Linked DNA regions of Homo sapiens: region 1 is linked to region 2. Evidence: promoter capture Hi-C in human tissues and cell types (Jung and others, 2019). All regions are on one chromosome and are shown on one strand. Each heading gives the region's core, a stretch centred on a gene start or on the middle of the fragment in contact. The rest is flanking DNA. Distances are from core to core; before and after follow the strand shown.

Region 1 (2,704 bases), core at 6-2,505, 850 kb before region 2:
AACTAATGTTACCTAGTAATTATGTAATCATGTTTAGTTTCTGACTTCAGAGGAATTATCTCTAGTATTTCCCTCATTAAACATACCGTTGACTTTGGGCTAAGATAGGTATATTTTATTACGTTGAAAATTGATATTTTTTGCTGTTTTGAGCAATAATAATTGTTGAATGTTATCAACATTTTCAGTGTCTGTTTTGCTCCTTCAGTCAATTATAATGGTACATTATTTCATTTTTCTAATACTGAGGACCTTGCATTCCTAGAAAATAAATCTATTTCCTCAGATATATGAATCTTTTAATGAGGTACTGAATTCTGCTTATTTGTGATTTACTTGGGATAGTTAATCTTCATATGTGGTATTTTTCTATAACTTTCTTTTCAGTACAGTCTTTATCAGGCTTTGACAGCAATAGTTTATTCACTTCATTAAAAATATGGATTTTTTTATTTTTGTTCTTGAAGAATTGAAATGTTCTTTAAAGATTTGATTGAATTCCTCTATATGAAAAACTGAATCTAGTGTGTTTACCTATTTCTTCTGTTCAAATTAACAAAATTATAAGTTTTATCTCTTCTGGGGTCAATTTTGATCAATTATTTTTCCTAGAAAATAACTGACTTAAATGAAATTTTCAAAATTATTTACATGAAGTTGGGTAAAACATAGGTAGATTTAAATTTTTCTATAATTATGTAGTTATTTCCCTTTTTCATTTTCTTATTTTATATATTTTGCTTACCTGTCTCTTCTCCTGAAATAGATATTTTTCTCTTTGTTTAGATTACCTGTTACCTTATTTATTCTATTATTTTGTAAAGTGCCAGCTTTTGGAAGTAGCTTAAGTTTGTGATTTTCAGTTTTCCAATTGATTAATTTCCAATTTTACTTACAATAATTTCTTCTTTATGCTTTTCCTCAGTGTAGTTTATTGCTGTTTTACTAACTTTTTGAATTGGATATCTAACTTATTTTATTCATGCATACTTATTGATATAAATATTTAAAACTGTGAATTTTCTTTTCCTCACTTCTTTGCCTATATTTTACATGTCAAGTTGTTTGAATCACTGTGTATTAATTATTGTTAAGAAATTATGATATTTTGATTATATGACATTATTGCTGGAGAAGTTGAATAAGAGAACTTTTAAAAAATCCCAGTTAGAAGGCACATTTTATTATTTGATTTTGTTGTTAAGCTTTATTCTTATTACATTGTGAAAAATGACTGTGTCTGCATTACCTCCTGGAACATATTGAGATTTTTCTCTATTGACCTATTCTATAGTTAAGTTTTTTAAATATCCCCTAGAAACATGGAAGAAATGTGCGTTCTCTATTTTCAAAGTATAGTTTGAGATACATCCATCTTATCTACCTGTGAATCATACTATTTTGTTTCCCACAATGTTCCACTTCCTCTATCAAAGATTGAAAGAGGTGAATTAAAGTCCCTTAGTGCTTGTGTTTCTTCTTTCCTTTTTATTTATCTCTTGTAATTTGTACTTTATAACGTGAGTGCCATTGGTATTTGATGTGTAGATAAGCATAATTATTAAAGACTCATGAGGTGCACACTATAGGATAAAACTGCCTTTCGTTATATTAAATCCTTATTTTTGCCTAAATTCTACTATTTTTAATGTTAAGACTCTTGCTTGTTTACTTTTTTTTCTTGTTTCTTTTCTTGTTTGTTTTATTTTGTTTCGTCAGTTTTTATCTTATTTTGTTTGGTTGGTTGGCTTTGTTTTTTGTTTTGTTGCATTTTTTAGCACAACTTTACTCAAACCTCTAATTTTCAATTTTACAGAATTACTTTGTCTTATGTTTTCTATATACCATACAGTTTGGTTTGTTTTTCTGATCCACTTCGAAATTCCTTCTTCTGAGAAATGAGTTAAGTTCCCTTCATCAATTAATATAAGAAATACGTTCATCTTATATCTACCATTTAGTTTTATGGGGTTTTTTTGGTTTTGTTTTTTGTTGTGTTTTGTTTTGTTTGAGAAGGAGTCTTGCTCTGTCACCCAGGCTGGAGTGCAGTGACACAACATTGGCTCACTGCCACCTCTGCCTCCCTGGTTCAAGCAATTCTCCTGCCTCAGCCTCCTGAGTAGTTGGGATTACAGGAGTGCACCACCACACCCAGCTAATTTTTTATATTTTTGGTAGAGACAGGGTTTCACCATGTTGGCCAGGCTGGTCTCGAACTCCTGACCTCAAGTGATCCGCCTGCCTTGCCCTCCCAAAGTGCTGGGATTATAGGTGTGAGCCACTACACCCAGCCTAGTTTTGTGTTTTTTTTTCTCTCTTTTTTCTGAGATTTTCTTTTATTGTGTAGTATTTTTTTTGCTTGAATTTTTGGGTATATTTATTCTGATATAGAAAAATGTTATGTATAATTGTACATAATCCCCTTTGTTCTTTGTTTCTTTAAACCATACATATTAATTTATTATTCTGAACAATGATAAAATTAGCACATTTCCTCTTCTCTGACCACCTATGTTTTAGGTAACAATATTATCTTTCTTAATGTTTATCTTTGTACACTTAAGTATGCCAATTCTCCTAATACCTTCGATTTTAAAAAATGGCCTTTGCCTAATATTTAGTGGAACTGTCAGCAAAACTATTCTACTACTCATCTTCTTTCTAACATCCTTCAATTGTTTGTTAGTTATAGCACTCCTACATG
Region 2 (2,700 bases), core at 16-2,515:
CCTTTCCCTCGTGCCCTTGATGCCCCCTCCACCTCTTCCTATTACCACTACTTGGCACCAGCCACATATTAGGGCTCCCTTGCAACCACTTTCAAACAAGGCCAGGCTTTATTCCATTTCAAAAAGCACACAAGAAAACCAAAATGCTTTTGCCTGACCTTGCTGTCTCTTCTAGTCTATTTATTGCTTTCCTTTTGCAGCAAGACATCTCAATTTCCTCTTTCCTCATAGCCCCTTAGTTTTGCAGTCTAGCTTCCTTTCTCTGTCACTCTATTGAAATTGTGTCCTCAAATGTCACAGTGGTTCCCTTGTAACTTAATCTGAAGAGGGTGGTGTTTTAGCCTCATTCTTCTTATTTTCTCAGCAGCATCGATTTTCTTTCTGCCTTTTTCTTTCATCTTCCACTCTGACATAGTTCTCTGGTTTATATTTTTCTGTTTATCTCCTGGGTTTTCTAGACCAGTCCAGTGCATAGCATCATGGCTGAGTCCAAGCTCTTACATTAGCCTGCCTGTAGCTGAATTTTAACTGCCACAAATTAACTGCATGACCTTTGTCAAGGTAATCTCCCTGTGCCTCAGTTTCTCCAGCCTTAAAATGGAGACTATAGTAGGAGTATTAACCTTTGGTTTGATGTAACAATTGAATGAGATAGTCTATGTAATATTTATCACAACATTTGGCACACAGAAGTTTTAATTGAATGTTATCTATTAGCATAACAATAAGTGCCTCTGTCTTTGAAAATATAACTGTTCTTTTTTCCTTTCAGGACATATTTTCTCCCTTTATGACCCAATGCAGAGCGAGACGATAACTAATTATTGTTAAATAGATTTATGCACGTGTTTGGAGAGTCAGGGAAGGAGGGCTGATGAGAGAGAGAGGCTCCTAAATTCTGCAGGTGCTGTAATTCCCCGGTTTTAATTTTGCTTTGCTTTTTACCAATAAATCATTTTGAGAGCTTAAATCGCTCCTTTCGGGACATACGGTGTTTCTTGAGCAGGAAGGGACGTCAACGGTTAAAGCTCTTGTTGTTGGTGCAACAATCAGCCACGATGAGGCTGCTTGGCATGGAACACAGTGTCCCATCCTTAGATTAAATGCGCTCTAACAGGATTATGTAAGGAAGGAGGCAGCCACGGCGGCGGCTTTGTGCAGGGGTCGCCTGGAACCCGTCCATTGAGTCATGCCGCCATCTCGCGGCCGCATGGGGAACGGGCCTTGGCAGGGAGGTTTTGTTTGGTGCAGAGGAAAGGTCCCCAGAATTGCCATCTGCAGAATTTCTGCAGAAAGTGTCGACCAGGCTGGCATGAGGGAAGAAGGAGGGGAAATCACAGCAAGGAGAAGGAAAAACACCTCAGCATGGCGTGGGGAAGCAAAGGTAGCAAGTCATGCTTGTGCCACCCTACAATATTCTTGTCGGTTTCATTCCAGAACAATTCCCTCCCCTGCCCAAATACTCTATAAACTTTGACTTTCCCCTCTTATTTGATTCTCACTTTCCAACACTCTGTGCCGACCCGTTATCCTGGACAGACCCTGCGTCACCTCCTAATTTCCCTTCTTGTATGTTAGGAATTCAGGGCTGGGAAAATTTAGCCGAGTCATCACATTTGGCTACTACCCGGGAAAGCAGCCCTCCCGAGTCAGGAACGGGCTCCGGTTCATCACGTGGCAGCCGCCTGCAGGAGCCGCAGGTAAGGGACACTGTTGGCCGGGGCAGCCAGATGCAGCGGGAGGCGTCCTGGCTGCACTTGGGTTCCCAAAACCTTTCTGGAATGTCACTCTGGTCACCAGTATGGGAGCTCGACCTCTAGGGGGTAGGATTTGGTAATGTTCTCTTTGTAAAACTGAAGTGGGCAATGTTGACCAGGAAGCTGATTTTGTTTGCTTTTCACAAACTATGTTAATCGATCAATAGTTGGGTTATAGATCATTCTATTGTCAGCAATATAATAGAATGGCAGGGACTCAGGGAAGATATTGACACTTTAAACTGAAATGTCTATGCGGTCTGTCTTCCCTCGTTCAGCTCACAGGACATTGCCTGGGAGCTGAACCTAGGCTTATAGCACAGTGACTGAAAGGATATCTTTCAGAGTCCTAAAATCTGCTCTGCCAGTATTTGACTTTGAGTTAATTGTTCAACATTACTTTAAGCCCAGTTTCTTCTTTTCTAAAATGAAGACGATTTTTTTAATATTAATTTTTTTTTTCATTTTTTTGAGACAGGGTCTTGTTGTGTTGCCCAAGCTGGGGTGCGGTGGCCCGATCTCGGCTCACTGCAACCTCTGTCTCCTGGGTTCAAGTGATTCTTCTGCCTCAGCCTCCTGAGTAGCTGGGACTACAGGTGTGCACCACCATGTCTGGCTAATTTTTGTATTTTTAGTAGAGGCGGGGTTTCACCATGTTGCTCAGGCTGGTCTTGATCTCCTGACCTCAAGCAATCTGCCTGCCTCAGCCTCCCAAAATGCTGGGATTTATAGGCATGAGCCACCACACGCAGCCTACTATTGTCATTTATAAGTTCAGTGTTGGAAGGATTTTTAAGCAATCTAACAGTTTCTTCTGCTCATTTTACAGATGAGATAAAATCAAAGTGTTTTATAATTTTGGCCTTCATAATATACCTTTTGGCTTCAATAAATAAAAGGATTATTGACCAAAAATCTAATATTTTGAGTCAGAATCATTCAA

The links. The method cuts DNA at HindIII sites, captures the fragments that hold promoters and counts their contacts. A contact is called where the count stands out against the background at its distance.
Region 1: a fragment that was not itself captured here is called in contact with the fragment with the promoter of MRO in region 2 in 1 of the 25 tissues and cell types used here (lymphoblastoid cells).

Annotation. Positions count from the first base shown.
Region 1 is chr18:51,673,526-51,676,229 of GRCh38, reverse strand. No RefSeq gene overlaps it. Among named protein-coding and RNA genes, the nearest start is that of LINC01630, 280 kb to the right of the region's middle. The HindIII fragment of the contact is 4,774 bases long and covers 1-2,704 here.
Region 2 is chr18:50,818,581-50,821,280 of GRCh38, reverse strand. It overlaps MRO (maestro), which reads left to right and starts at 1,265. Exons shown (of 8, transcript NM_031939.6): 1 at 1,265-1,384; 2 at 1,579-1,700. RefSeq lists enhancers at 1,061-1,110, 947-1,580. The HindIII fragment of the contact is 21,582 bases long and covers 1-2,700 here.